Regions from separate parts of the Homo sapiens genome. Here regions 1 and 2 are each linked to region 3. The links are contacts of gene promoters, found by promoter capture Hi-C in blood cells and fetal thymus (Javierre and others, 2016). All regions are on one chromosome and are shown on one strand. Each heading gives the region's core, a stretch centred on a gene start or on the middle of the fragment in contact. The rest is flanking DNA. Distances are from core to core; before and after follow the strand shown.

Region 1 (4,320 bases), core at 836-3,335, about 58 Mb after region 3:
GGCATGGTAGCAGCCGCCTATAATCCCAGCTACTGGGACGCTGAGGGAGGAGAATTGCTTGAAGCCTGCAGGCAGAGGCTGCAGTGAGCCAAGATGGCGCCATTGCACTCCAGCCTGGGCAACAAGAGCGAAACTCCATCTCAAAAAAAAAAAAAACTCAGGTCTTCCACAACCTAGTCCATTAGACTATCTCATTTAACTGCCTCCTAAGATACAGATCAAAGGTGAAGAAAGCTTCTTCAGTTGAGTTCCACTAATCTACCAAGAAAAAGATAATGTCTATGTTCACATATACAGAACTTTAATTTTTTAGAAATGAAAGGCAGTATTTTACTTCTTTACTTTAAAATTTAGAAAAACTGAGAACTAATCATCAAATATCTATTGCTTTGTAACAAACATCAAAAGAACTTTAAATATTCTCTAATTAAATCTTTACTATAGCCTGAGAGGTAGATGTTTTCACCATTTCACAGATTAGAAAAACATGCATCAGATCAGTAAGGTCCCAAAGCCAGTAAGCGACACTCTATTTGGCTCTACAGTACCATCAATTAGGAAATGGAGGAGAAAATGAGAGAATAGCATAGGCTAGAGAATGGAAATGAGATGTTTATCAAAGTATAAAAGTAACCAGAACAGATTCGTTTACTAATGCCAACCTTAAAAATAAAGCCAAACAAAATCAGGCCTTTAGATAAATATTAATCCAAAAAATGTTTCAAGAAAATAACACCGATTCCCTTTGGAGAGGGGAACTGTGCAGCTGAGGACAGGGACTGAAGGAAGACTTTTCACAGTAAACTCTGTAACTTTTGGAGTTTAACCGTAACAGTGTATTGCTTACTCCAATAAATAAGAAAAAGGTTTAAAAAAAAAACTTCAAATATGTTTTAGTTCCTATCAAGTTTGTAATTGTTAGCACTCTACAATCCTCCAAGAGGCCACAGCAAAACTGAAATTTCAGAAAAAAAAAAAAATCCTAACTTGTGTTCTGAAAAAGGCAAGGCAGAGCTTATATTAAGGGGCAGAAAATTTGCCTTTGGGGATTGGGGGATCAGGAGGGGAGAAAAGCCTATTGCCTGCAACGATCAACTCAATTCCACTGCTATTTTTAGCCCATTTTTTTAGTCTGTTGCTAAGAAACCCTATTGCCTGAAGGCAATTTACTAATAGGAACTTACATGAAGCAGGAGAAACCGGTGATCCTGAAATTCTTTCCAATTAGGCCATTCTATTTTAATCAGTCCATTCTGGTGCCACTTGATAAAATATCTCCTTTCAATCTTTATGTAGCTCTACTGTGATGTTGTTGCACTTAACAGCAAAACAATCATTTATGAAATCTTAATGTAAGGCTTCTGCAAACCAGTATACCAGAAATGGAGAACCATAGTTCTGGACTCTGATTTTTCTATTAATAGTTGTCTTCATGAAAATACCGTGTATTCCAAACAATACCTTGCAAGGTAATTTTATATTTTAAGAGATCTGGTGCAGAGCATCGGAAAAAGAGTTGATAAAGCTATTATAGATAAAAAGCTGTGAACTGAAATTACGATTTGGGAATGAGACGAGAAGAGGGCTGAGACTGCTACTGCAAAACAACCCGGGGGGCGTGCGGATCAGAGCGAGATGTGGGCTGACGCAGAAATCAGCTCAAGATACAAATACGCCAAGAAAGGCTCGAAGCCGGCGGGAACCCTGACGCTTCGCATTTCTACCAACTCAGTTTAAGAAACCCCTAACAACGCAGATGTCATCGCTTCGTTAATTGGTGCCGACGATGAGCCACAGCGACCACGCTCAAACCGTTTCGACTGCAGCCAACCTAGATGTGCCATTTCCACCTAGTCTTCTGCCATCGCTATCTCCCCTATAACCTCAAATTCGTCCAAACTAAAATCTCGCTATGTTAGTGATAAGAAGTTCAGTGATGCAGCAGCCTTCTTCAGCGGTGAGCTCTTTCCTCACACATCTTTAAAAGTCCTTCTAATCCGTTGGTTTCTCGGGCACGCGGGCAGAAAACCGTGCTAACGGCCACAGAGGTTCAAGAGGTGCCAACGTGGCTATAACTGGAAAACTGGATCCGAAATCGACCAGTAAACTGGGTAGCTCGGTCTACGCCCCGCCCACCACCCTTGCTAGCCAATAGCCTTCACAACTCTTCTGCCACTCCCGCCCATTCCAGTGCTGTGCCGCTGCTTTTTCTTCCACTCGGATCTCTTGAGCGCCCTTAGCCCGCTGTATACGCGCCCCTCCTCGGCTTCAGTAGGCAAGAGGGCCATCTGCCCTTCTTTCCTGAAGGTAGAGGGGACAACACCAGCTACGACGGGGACTCCAGAAGTCCATCTCCCGAACAGCAGCGGGGCGAAAAGAAAGAAAAAGGGTTTCCGAAGACTCCTACTCACACCCACGCTTTCCCTTAACCCGGAAGTGATTTCCGCCCCTCCTCTCCCTCTTCGGTTGATACTGGAGGAGAAGGACGGCCAGGTCTGGCCCGGCATGCCCTGGGCTTCCGGTGACCTCTGGCCCTTTTCTGTCGTCCGCTCTCTCTGCCTAGCGTGCTCGCTCGCTCATTGCTTTCCTTCCCTCCCTCGGTCTTCCTTCGCACGCTGTTTGGTGATTGTGGCGCTCGCGACAGACAGGGAGGCGGTGGCAGAGGACACTTGTCATGGCCGCCTCTAAACCTGTGGAGGCAGCGGTGGTCGCAGCCGCTGTACCGAGCTCCGGGAGTGGGGTGGGCGGCGGCGGGACTGCGGGCCCGGGCACGGGGGGGCTGCCGCGATGGCAGCTGGCTCTGGCGGTCGGGGCACCCCTGCTGCTGGGCGCGGGTGCCATATACCTGTGGAGTCGGCAGCAACGGCGCCGGGAGGCCAGAGGCCGGGGCGACGCCAGCGGCCTGAAGCGCAACAGCGAACGGAAGACCCCGGAGGGCAGGGCCAGTCCGGCCCCGGGCAGCGGACACCCTGAAGGTCCCGGTGCTCACTTGGACATGGTGAGAAGCAGCCCCAGGCCGTAGAGGAGGAAACTGGCTCGTGCAGCTTTTCCTTGGCGGGTTGTGTCAGTGAGGGGGCTTCCCATCAGACGGAAGCTGCCAAGCGGCAGCACAACACTTGGGTTTAGGGAGACTCATTTCTGGCTGCCAGTGGAGGGCATAGAGTAGCTCGATGACAGGTTACTGGCATTCTTTGACAGTTTGCTTTTGGTTTCAGAAAAATCCTTTGCTTTTCTTCTCAGTGACACAGCATTTATCCCTAGTGTTGTAGATGGGAGTGGGGCATTTGCAAATGTGATGATTGTATTTAATAAGTGAAGGAAGCTAAATTCGATTAACAATTGGTACATCGTGATACGAACTGTTTCTGTGATTTCCAAAGCCTACAACCTAATCGCTAAGAGCCTTTTAATAATGAGCCACTCCCCCTTTTGGAGTGTGTTTTTGCTGGGGGTAAGTGGGCAACTACAGTGACGGTTAGTTGACAAAAGCAAAACAAAAACAAAAACGATTAGATGGCTTTCTACATAGAAAAAGAAAGACTACACAGGTTCTAAAGAGTGAAATGGTGTTCAGTGGCATTTGTTTTACAGCCTCTGAACTGTAAGCAGAACTGTCAAGCTCCCAAGGCTCGTCCTCTCTCAGCAACCCCGAAGCCCCCTTGGCTGCAAGCACTCAGCGCCCGTAACCTCTCCTGCCATGCCCCAGCCCCAAGGTGTCCTTTTGCACTCCGGACCCCTTGGCCTTTGTCAGAAAACGCTCTGCACTGCACTGTCCCCTCTTGCTGCACAAGAGTAGCGGCCACAGCAATGCTCACCAGGCTTGGTTGCACACAGCCCCCTGCCCCAGGTCCAGGCCTACACACACATACAAAAAAAAAAAAAAAAAAAATGGGAGTGACTTCTTAAACTTTTTGATTGGAAGCATCTTAAATTCAGTTTTTCCATTTCACCTGGAAATGTACATGACCAAGCCTAATATGCATGATACAGTTTCTCTGATGTGAGGCCAAGCATTGGATTATTTAGTGAACTGCTTTGTATGGTTTTGGTGAACTGACTGTTAAATCCTTTTGGTATCTGACAGCTGTGCAGAGAATTAGTCTGGCTGCATTTGACAATACTGGGATTGGGTGTGGTGGATTTTCTCTGGGTCTGGAGTTGTTCAATGGTAGTACCAGAGTAAGTCGAGGTCAGAGAAACGTTTGGTCAAATATCTCCCAGTTTTATACATAAGTATATACAGTTGGTCAAGTAACTTCTAATTGTATCCAAGTGTATACACTTAAATATGTATGCAAGTCATTTCCATATTATACTATT
Region 2 (4,413 bases), core at 1,086-3,585, about 39 Mb after region 3:
ACTGCAACCTCTGCCTCCTAAGTTCAAGTGATTCTTGTGCCTCAGCCTCCTGAGTAGCTGGGATTACAGGCATGTGCCACAAGCCTGGCTAATTTTTGTATTTTTAGTAAAGATGGTGTTTCACCATGTTGGCCAGGATGGTCTCAAACTTCTGGCCCCAAGTGATCTGCCTGCCTCAGCCTCCCAAAGTGCTGGGATTACAGGTGTGAGCCACCAAGCCCAGCCCTGTAGGCTGTAGTCTGCTCTTTTTGAAGGTTCTCCGATCAATACAGTCTAAGCCAGAGGTGTCCAATCTTTTGGCTTCCCTGGGCCACATTGGAAGAATAATTGTCTTGGCCCACACATAACACTAACTGTAGCTGATGAGCTAAAAACAAAAAACAAAAAGAAAAGAAAAAGAAAAAAGTCCATGCATAAATCTCATGTTTTAAGAACGTTTACAAATTTGTGTTGGGGCGCATTCAAAGCTTTCCTGGGCCGCGTGCAGTTCGTGAGCCATGGGTTGGACAAGCTTGGTCTAAGCCAAAAGGTGTTATGGGGTTTACTGGACCACTGTTTCACATATGGCTTTCTTGTCCCCAGGACATGTGTTTGCCAGCAGAGTAACTGCATCAGGGAAAGATTTCAGTGCAATCACCATACTGCCTGGAACACCATTCTTCCACCAACAGCCCTTGTTGCTGAATTCTGTTTATAGAACCTAATAGTTTCTTCCCTCACAGTGAATTTTTTTCTCAGGGGTCAGCAGGTTCCCTTCCCTGCCAGGTTCACCAAGTACTGCCCTTGCTACGTATTTTACATTTTGTTACATTATATATGATATAAAACTTTTCAACATGTGGAGAGAGAATGAATTTTGAGAACTCCAAGAACCATTTCATTTACTTATCCTTCATGGTATAAATTAATTTTTACCTCCACAAAGTTTCCCATCTGCTCCAGTTGGAAGTTTATTCTTCCTCTAAACTCCAGATCCACATTGTCTTCATGAATAATTGGCACTCCTGTTGCCTTAATCACCTTCCACGTATGTATGATGCCTCTCATATTGTTTATCATCTCAACGGCACAGCCCCTTGAGGTTTGGGAGCCTCTTGTAAACTTTCCTTGTCTCTGTGCATAGTAGATGCTTAAGAAGTATCTGGTAAGTATTAAATGAGTGACTTGTAAATATAACTCTCTGCTCCATCCACAACACCTTACCTCTGGATGCAGTAAGATTATCCTAAGAGAGGGCATCTTTAGATGCATGTAAAGATAGACTTTTGTGTATCTGTGCTTTTTTTTTTTTTTTTTTTGAGAAACAGGGTCTTATTCCCATTGCCCAGGTGGAAGTACAGTACAGTGGCATGATCATGGCTCACTGCAGCCTCAACATTGCGAACTCAAGCTATCTTCCTGCCTCTTTTTTTTTTTTTTTTTTTTTTTTTTTTTTTTTTTTTGTAGAGCCGAGGTCTCACCATGTTGCCCAGGCTGGTCTTGAACTCCTGGGCTCAAGTGATTCTTCTGCCTTGGCCTCCCAAAGAGCTGGGATTACAGGTGTGAACCACTGTGTCTGGCCTGTTTGTGCTCTTGTTTGTAGTCAGTCTAGGGGTTAAGTGTAGGGAACTCTTGGAGGTGACCCAAATGAGTCCATTAAAGTTTTTGTCCTTGGGAATTTTGAGCTGAGACAGAGCCCAATAGGTAATGGAACTGCATTATAGTAGCACCCTGGAAACAGTCAAAATTCTTGCTGAGATTCCTGGAGGTGCCCTTGCTTCTATCCTTCTAACCACTGTGAAACCTTTTTAGATTCCACGAGATGCCCTCATGTCCTTCTAGTAAGTTACTTTGCTTAAACTAGCTAGAGGCAGTTTCTGTTCTTGACCACTAGGAAAATCTGAACTGATATAGTAGAATAAGGTGGGTCACTGACAGCACATAGATAACACTCCCGAAATAAATAAAGACAAAGCATTATTTGTGTTATGCAAGTATCCCACTTCATTCAAATAAATTATTCTTTCCTTGAAGAAAAGCATGGCCATTAGCTCTCTGAAAAGGAAAGGGTAAGTTTGGGACTGAACTAGTAATAACAACAACAAATAAAACCTTCAAAAGTTGTGGGGAAACAAATTATTTTCAAAAACAATTTACATAGTTATACCATCCTCATATCATCTACACTGAGGTAAACAGATAGACAAGTACAAAATCTGAATAACATTTGCTGTATTTAAAGACAAAGATGCCCTTATTGGCTCTTCAAAGGGCAGGTGAGGATTTACATTGATCCAATTCTTATGGTCTTATCTACTCATCCTTTGGAGCCAGTAATAATCTGTATATAGGATCTGGTTAAGCCAACTGTCTCCATTCCTCCATCCATCCATCCACCCACCCAATAGTTCTTTGTGTGAGGCACTGTGCTGGATCATGAAGCCATCAAGATGAGTAAAATTAGATTCTCACCCATTAATAAGTTTACAGAACAGTAGGAGAAACAGTCAAGCAACTACAGTGATGTCATATAATACAGGCATAAACAAAGTACTATGGTAGCCCCTTACTGCCTGGAGGAATGAATGAAAGGAGTCAGAAAGAAGGTGATGTTTGAGCTGAAACTTGAAGCTAAATGGGAAACATTCCCAGGGAAATGAATCTTCAGCTCCTAATCTAAAGGATAGCAAATTTTGTTCCTATTTTAATGAGAGGAAATTAAAATTCAGAGAGAATGCTTACACCTAGTAGGGCCTCACAGTGACAAGGCAAAACCATAGTACGACTCAGAAATCTGGACTGCCTATTGCTAGATTCACAGACTAAGAACCTAAGAACACGGTCCCTGTGCATTGCTAGTACTCAAAAAAAAAAAAAAAAAAAAATCCAACTTTAAACATCTGCTTATTCCATGAAATGATCTTGCCAGGCATGCTCAACTTCTCTAAGAAGGTCATTAGACTTAAACTTTTGTGGAAAGGAGTTTAAAAAGCCAAATACATTTCTGACAAATGGAATGTCTGATAATTATGTGACTGAATCTCACATTTACTAATTCTGAAACTAGTTAATACCAAATAGTTCTTAAAAGACAAAGGAAGAGAGGTGATTTCTCTGTGGAAAGGTTGGGCCTAAGGGTCAAGGATGGTTCTAAGTCATCAGACTACAGAGTTTTAATCTAAACATTTTTCTTCATTTTTTACTATGTTAGAAAGAGCACCCTGAGATATTAAACTACTACCCAAAACATCTTTTTCAAAAAGTGAAAAAAGGAAAAGGGAGGCACTCCATCATGGATTTGCACTAAAACAAATATCTTCTATATATTTGAAGTTGAATGCTCTTAACTACCAACTGAATGGCACGTTCACATATGAAGACTTCTTGTGATTCCTGCAAGACAGTGAGAGTGTGAATGACCCCTGCTGTGGCCAATTTAAGAAGGAAAAATATTAAAGGTATGCAAAGGGTGAGGAAGAGCTGCTGTTCTATGTATAGTTCCATTAAATTTATTAAGAGGCTTTGTCTTTTTTTTTTTTTTTGGCTTTAGAGAGGCATTAAGAAGTAGGGCATGAAGGCACAAAAAGGGAACCTGAAATCCAATTGCAATAATTACTCATGCAATTGGCCTCTTTCTATGTGGCATTATAGAAACCTCCTGAGTAACACAGTTTATGGTTTTACAAAAGAGAACTCCTACATCATTGCATGGCATGGCTACCGCTTCCTTAGACCATTCAGAGAATGATCCCCAAGTATTTTTCATAAACCCCATAGGGTTTCCTACATTAAAATAAAGTGACAGAGATCACGCCTTGAATAATTTCACAATTCCAGCAATGAGTTGTACTACTTCCAAATGACGAATTTTCTGCTCCAAATAATGGGACAAAGGGCATCATCACATGGACACAGTCAATTTCACAGTGATGGACTCACACAGGTGGATGATCTGAGGCACAAGCTGTGATTGGTCTTAAGAAAATGAAAGGTAGAGTTGGGTTCAAAATCCACATCTCACGATTTCTGGTCCTTATTCATCCAAAAAGTTGAACTGCTTCATATCAGTGTATTAGACACATTTTAAATCTTTCTCAAGAGTTGCTCTGGGTGCAGCATGATAAGGAAAACCAGGTATTTGGCTTGATAGCAGATATTCAAGGTATAGGTGCCAAGCTTATGGTAAGCTTCTCACCGTAGGATATCTGAGATCTGTTGCCACAAAGAGGACTATGGTCCTATGATGACTACTATAGTTCAGTTTTCAACATTTTGGGAATAATTTGATCATAACCTTTCCTTCTCGTTACATTATAAGACAGGAATTTAGAGTATTCACTCAAGAGGTTCTCCCAGTAACAGGTGATGTCATCCATCTGCAAATGGTTCCTAATAAACTGGCTTCCCCTAGAGACAAGATTTAACAAGAAAATG
Region 3 (4,717 bases), core at 62-2,561:
AACAAAACAATTAAAATCTGGTTCTAATTAATCCGGAATCAACCGTGAATATATACCTCATGCATCTTTGCAATTCTGCCAGTGTAGTAAAGGACTCGTTCTGTTAATGTAGTTTTCCCAGAATCAATGTGAGCTGAGATTCCAATATTTCGTATTTTTTCATTAGGAATCACCCCTGATGAAGACCATCGGCAGGCCTTCCAATTAACCTGAAAAAAATACGAGAGCTCAATTCTATGCACCTTTTATAAGAGAGAACAACAGACAATTAAAAGGAGTATGGTGGACATTATTCCTCCAAGAAATCTCACTGGATATGAGATAGCTTGAGAAAGGCACCAGGGGAAACCTTTAAGCCTGGAACTCTTGTAATCAGAGGACAGACTTCAAAACAAGACAGTAAAGACGTATTCTTTTAAAATTAATTAATGAATAAGTTAAATTTAATTAAAATGGGAGACACTTTTTACTGCAGATTTGAAAATACACACTGGGGCAGATAAAATCACAAAGACAGCTCCAAAAAATACTTTAATAGAAAATACAAATTTTAGCTTAAATTTAACTTAATTTTTTTCCCTTTCTCCTTTATTGTAGTTCACAGATGACAAATATGTTTGAGAACTTATATGCTCTATGCAGTGATGCTAGTAGCTCCAAGACAGCCCCCAAAGATTTCCAATTCCCTCCAAACAAAAACAATTCATGAAGCTTGTTTTAACTTTACTCTGGTGGCAGGGGATGGGGATCCCTATTAGATGGAATGAAGATACAATATAAACCTTTCCCTATAGGACTGCACATCCAAAATGCACAATTATTCACGGGAAAAGAGAGGCAAAAAAAAAAAAAAAAAACCTTAGAAAAGGTGGATAAAATATCAAAGTATCTGAGTGACAGACACTTTTAGTTGATTAAACCCTAGGGATACCAGAGAGCGAAACAAACGAGCTAACGAGCTAATGTGCAGGCACCGAGGTGCTTTTCAGCACTGACGAGCGACTGCCAGTATTCGGAGCTGTCAGTCATGAGGACCCAGGGGGTGTCACGGCCTTCCATTGCCCAGAAGGGATCACAAGGTTCCGGGAATGGTCCCGATTTAGCCTCTCTATGCTCCGGTACCTGCTTCCTCTGCCAGCCTAGGGAGGCGGGGGCCCTTCCGCGCCCCAGAGCCGCGACGGCTGCAGCTCCCAGGAGTCTCATGGCAAGCGCAGAGCACGCGTCAAAGTCCCGTGGCGCCGGGTGGGTTCAGCTGCCGGTAACGCACCGGGAAGCGGTCAAAGTCACGCCGGCAGCCAATGTTGTAAGAGCACTTCCGGGGCAAAGGACGCGAGGAAAAAGAGAGTGAGGAAAAGAAAGAAGAGCAACTGGATTGGAGGCGGAGCAGTGCCTACGCTGCTCGCGCGCCGTCTGCCGACTTGGAAGAGAAAGTGCAATCGCTTTGCGGAGCTAAAGAAGTGTTTGCTCCCAGTAAGACGGCATAGGTATATGGGTGAGGGAAGGGAGTCCTTTTGTCTTCGTCTTCTTTTTTAAATATTACCTCTGTATGAAGATACAGAATTTAAACATGGTTGTTAGGCCTATAAAGCAATGTGGAGAAATGTATATAACAATTTAAGTAGAAAAGAGCAAAATTGTCTATTACAAATATTAATAGGTATATATATGACATGGCCTGAAAAAGAACGTGGACAAATTATAGTGAATGAACTATCAATTACAATTACAAATACTTTTCCTCATGTCAAAATGTTATTTGTTATTGTTCGATGTCAGACATTTCATGTCCTGTCCATGTGGAAGACTGCATCCTTGACCATTCTGCTTGGATGTGTTAAGAGGCATGTTGAACCTAACAGGTCCAAAACTGAGCTTCGGATCTTCTTCCCCAAACCTTCCACAGTCTTATCCATCTCATAAATGTAAACTTTAGTGATTCTAGCCAAAAATATTAGTCGCTTTGACACCATGCTGTGACATCTCCGGTCTAATCAGTCAGCATATCCTGTAAGCTCTACTTTCAAAAAGACATCCAGGGCCGGACGCGGTGGCTCACACCTGTAGTCCCAGCACTTTGGAAGGCCGAGGCGGGCAGATCACGAGGTCATGAGATGGAGACCATCCTGGCTAACACAGTGAAACCCCGTCTCTACTAAAAATACAAAAAAAAATTAGCCGGGCGCGGTGGCGGGCGCCTGTAGTCCCAGCTACTCGGGAGGCTGAGGCAGGAGAATGGTGTGAACCCAGGAGGCGGAGCTTGCAGTGAGCCGAGATCACGCCACTGCACTCCACCCTGGGTGACAGAGCGAGTCTCAAAAAAAAAAAAAAAAAAAGAAAATCCAGAACTTACTTCTCCCCACCTCTCAGTACTGCCGTTTCTGGAGGGAACTATTGTAATAGCCTTGTAACCGATCTCACTGCTTCTATCCTTGCTGTTGTCAGTGGGCCGGTTCAGGTGCTTGACTTCACCACACAAAAGAATTTGAAAGCAAGTACAAAGTAAGAGTAGGCAAAAAAGTTTATTGTAAACCAAAAGTACACTCTGAGAGGCAGAGTGGGCTGCTCAGAAGAGAGACAGACAGCCTTTAGTATCTCTAGGGAATTCCCTTTATGGGTGAGGCAGGAGAACAGGGTCTAGAGACAGGGAACCGAAGGCCCTGCTGACTTCCTAGAGCTGAACCAAAAGGAAAACCCCACCTCTCCATGCCCAAGTAACAAAAGGATCGGAGGCTACTCCCAATGCACTGCATTGCAGATGAAAAAATGGAAAGTACCTCTGACTGGTCCCCTCTGGCAAATAATCAGACTGGTAGCAGGCCAAGTCCTCATGTGTAACTTTGTAACTTCACTTCAGCCTCTGATTGGTCACCTCCTGCAACCAAGCAGGCTGGTTATGGGCCACTCCTTCATTTACATAGGGTGTAACCAATGGGAACGCTCTAGAGGGTATTTAAATCCCAGAAAATTCTGTAACAGGTGCTCTTGAGCTGTGGAGTGTACTTTTGTTTCAACACATCTGTGCCTTCATTGCTCCATTCTTTCATTGCTTTGCTTATGTGTTTTGTCCAATTCTTTGTTCAAACGCCAAGAACCTGTATGACTCATAGTCAAGACCCTTCACTGGTAACATGGGAGCTGTACATATATATTCATAAAATACTGGTAAGGTCAAGTATGCAAAGGTGGACCTGTGGTTGGCACAGGTACTTGGCATCTACATGTTCTAACACAGGAGTCCCCAACCTCTGGGCCAGAGACCAGTATCAGTCCATGGCCTGTTAGGAACCAGGCCACACAGTAGGAGGTAAGCAGTGGGCGAGCGAGTGAAGTTTCATCTGTATTTACACCCTCTCCTTATCACTTGTATTACCACCTGAGCTCTGCCTCCTGTCAGATTAGCAGTGGCATTAGATTCTCATGGGAGTGTGAACCCCCTTGTGAACTATCCATTCAAGGGATCTGGGTTACGCACTCCTTATGAGAATCTAATGCCTGATGACCTGAGGTGGAGCTAAGGTGTGGCCGCTAGGGCTGGGGAACAGCTGCAAATACAGATTAACATTAGCAAAGAGGTTTGACTGCACAGAGACCATAATAAATCAATTGCTTGCAGATTCATATCAAAACCCTGTCAGTGAGTGTCAAGTGACAAAAGCTGCACTGGTGGCAAGCTTTATAGTGGCAAGTGAGTTGATGTATTTCAGTTGTACAGTTGCATCTGATGGCAGGCTTTAAAGTCTTGCGTGGCCCGCCCATTATTTTATTTACCACTTCCGTCCGCGCTTCCTTCCCACACTGAGCACTTGCCTCAGTCACAGTTTTGGTAAGCCCACAACCTAACTCTAGCCAAAACGAGTAAAAAACAAATGTCACTGGAGAGCTTCTTTGAAAATGGGGAAAGACCCAATGATGAGAAAATGGAAAACTCTAAGACTGCTAATAAAAGGAAAGCTGCATGTGAAAGAAAATACCTAGAGTCCTACTTAAATTGCAGGTTCACTGCAACAGGTGATTCACATTCTCCAAGCCTGCTTTATATAATATGTGGCAAGCGGCTATCCAACAAACCCATGAAACCTTCAAAACTGCTTCGCCACATGGAGACCAAGCACCCTACATAAAAAGAGAAGCCTTTGGAGTTTTTCAAAAGAAAAAATGTGGACACGAAGAACAGAAGCAATTATTGAAGGCCGCCACTTCCATCAAATGTGTCTGCATTGACAGTGTCATTCTTAGTGGCTAACAGCATTGCTAAGCTAAGAAGCTCTTTACTACTGGAGAATTGAACCTGCCTGCTGCTAAGGACATTTGTCATGAACTTTTAGGAGATGCTGCAGTTCAAAAGGTGGCACGTGTGCCTCTTTGGGCTAGCACCATAATTAGAGGAAATGATGAAATAGCAGAGGATATCGAGGCACAATTACTAGAAAGGATTAATGGGGCTGGGTGCAGTGGCTCATGCCTATAATCCCAGCACTTTGGGAGGCCGAGGCGGGCGCATCACAAGGTCAGGAGTTCAAGACCAGCCTGACCAACATGGTAAAACCCCATCTCTACTAAAAATACAAAAATCTGCCAGGCATGGTGGCATGCGCCTGTAATCCCAGCTACTCAGGAGGCTGAGGCAGGAGAATCACTTGAACCCGTGAGGCGGAGGTTGCAGTGAGCCAAGATCATGCCACTGCACTCCAGCTTGGGTGACAGATCGAGACTCAAT

Evidence for each region. The method cuts DNA at HindIII sites, captures the fragments that hold promoters and counts their contacts. A CHiCAGO score of 5 or more calls a contact.
Region 1: a contact is called between the fragment with the promoter of LNP1 here and the fragment with the promoter of GFM1 in region 3, in 1 of 17 cell types (non-activated CD4 T cells). The highest score is 6.1, in non-activated CD4 T cells.
Region 2: a contact is called between a fragment that was not itself captured here and the fragment with the promoter of GFM1 in region 3, in 1 of 17 cell types (non-activated CD4 T cells). The highest score is 5.8, in non-activated CD4 T cells.

Annotation. Positions count from the first base shown.
Region 1 is chr3:100,399,304-100,403,623 of GRCh38, reverse strand. It overlaps LNP1 (leukemia NUP98 fusion partner 1), which reads right to left and starts at 2,085. Exons shown (of 4, transcript NM_001085451.2): 1 at 1,185-2,085. TOMM70 (translocase of outer mitochondrial membrane 70) reads left to right here and starts at 2,535. Exons shown (of 12, transcript NM_014820.5): 1 at 2,535-2,998. The coding sequence starts at 2,675. RefSeq lists silencers at 2,067-2,146, 2,757-2,836 and enhancers at 2,207-2,296, 2,307-2,356, 2,407-2,516, 3,198-4,117. The HindIII fragment of the contact is 4,606 bases long and covers 237-4,320 here.
Region 2 is chr3:119,492,255-119,496,667 of GRCh38, reverse strand. POGLUT1 (protein O-glucosyltransferase 1) reads right to left here. Exons shown (of 11, transcript NM_152305.3): 11 at 1,960-4,386. The coding sequence ends at 4,230. Among named protein-coding and RNA genes, the nearest start is that of TIMMDC1, 4.1 kb to the left of the region's middle. The HindIII fragment of the contact is 3,644 bases long and covers 514-4,157 here.
Region 3 is chr3:158,641,121-158,645,837 of GRCh38, reverse strand. GFM1 (G elongation factor mitochondrial 1) reads right to left here and starts at 1,311. Exons shown (of 18, transcript NM_024996.7): 1 at 1,123-1,311; 2 at 57-209. The coding sequence starts at 1,203. The HindIII fragment of the contact is 2,960 bases long and covers 714-3,673 here.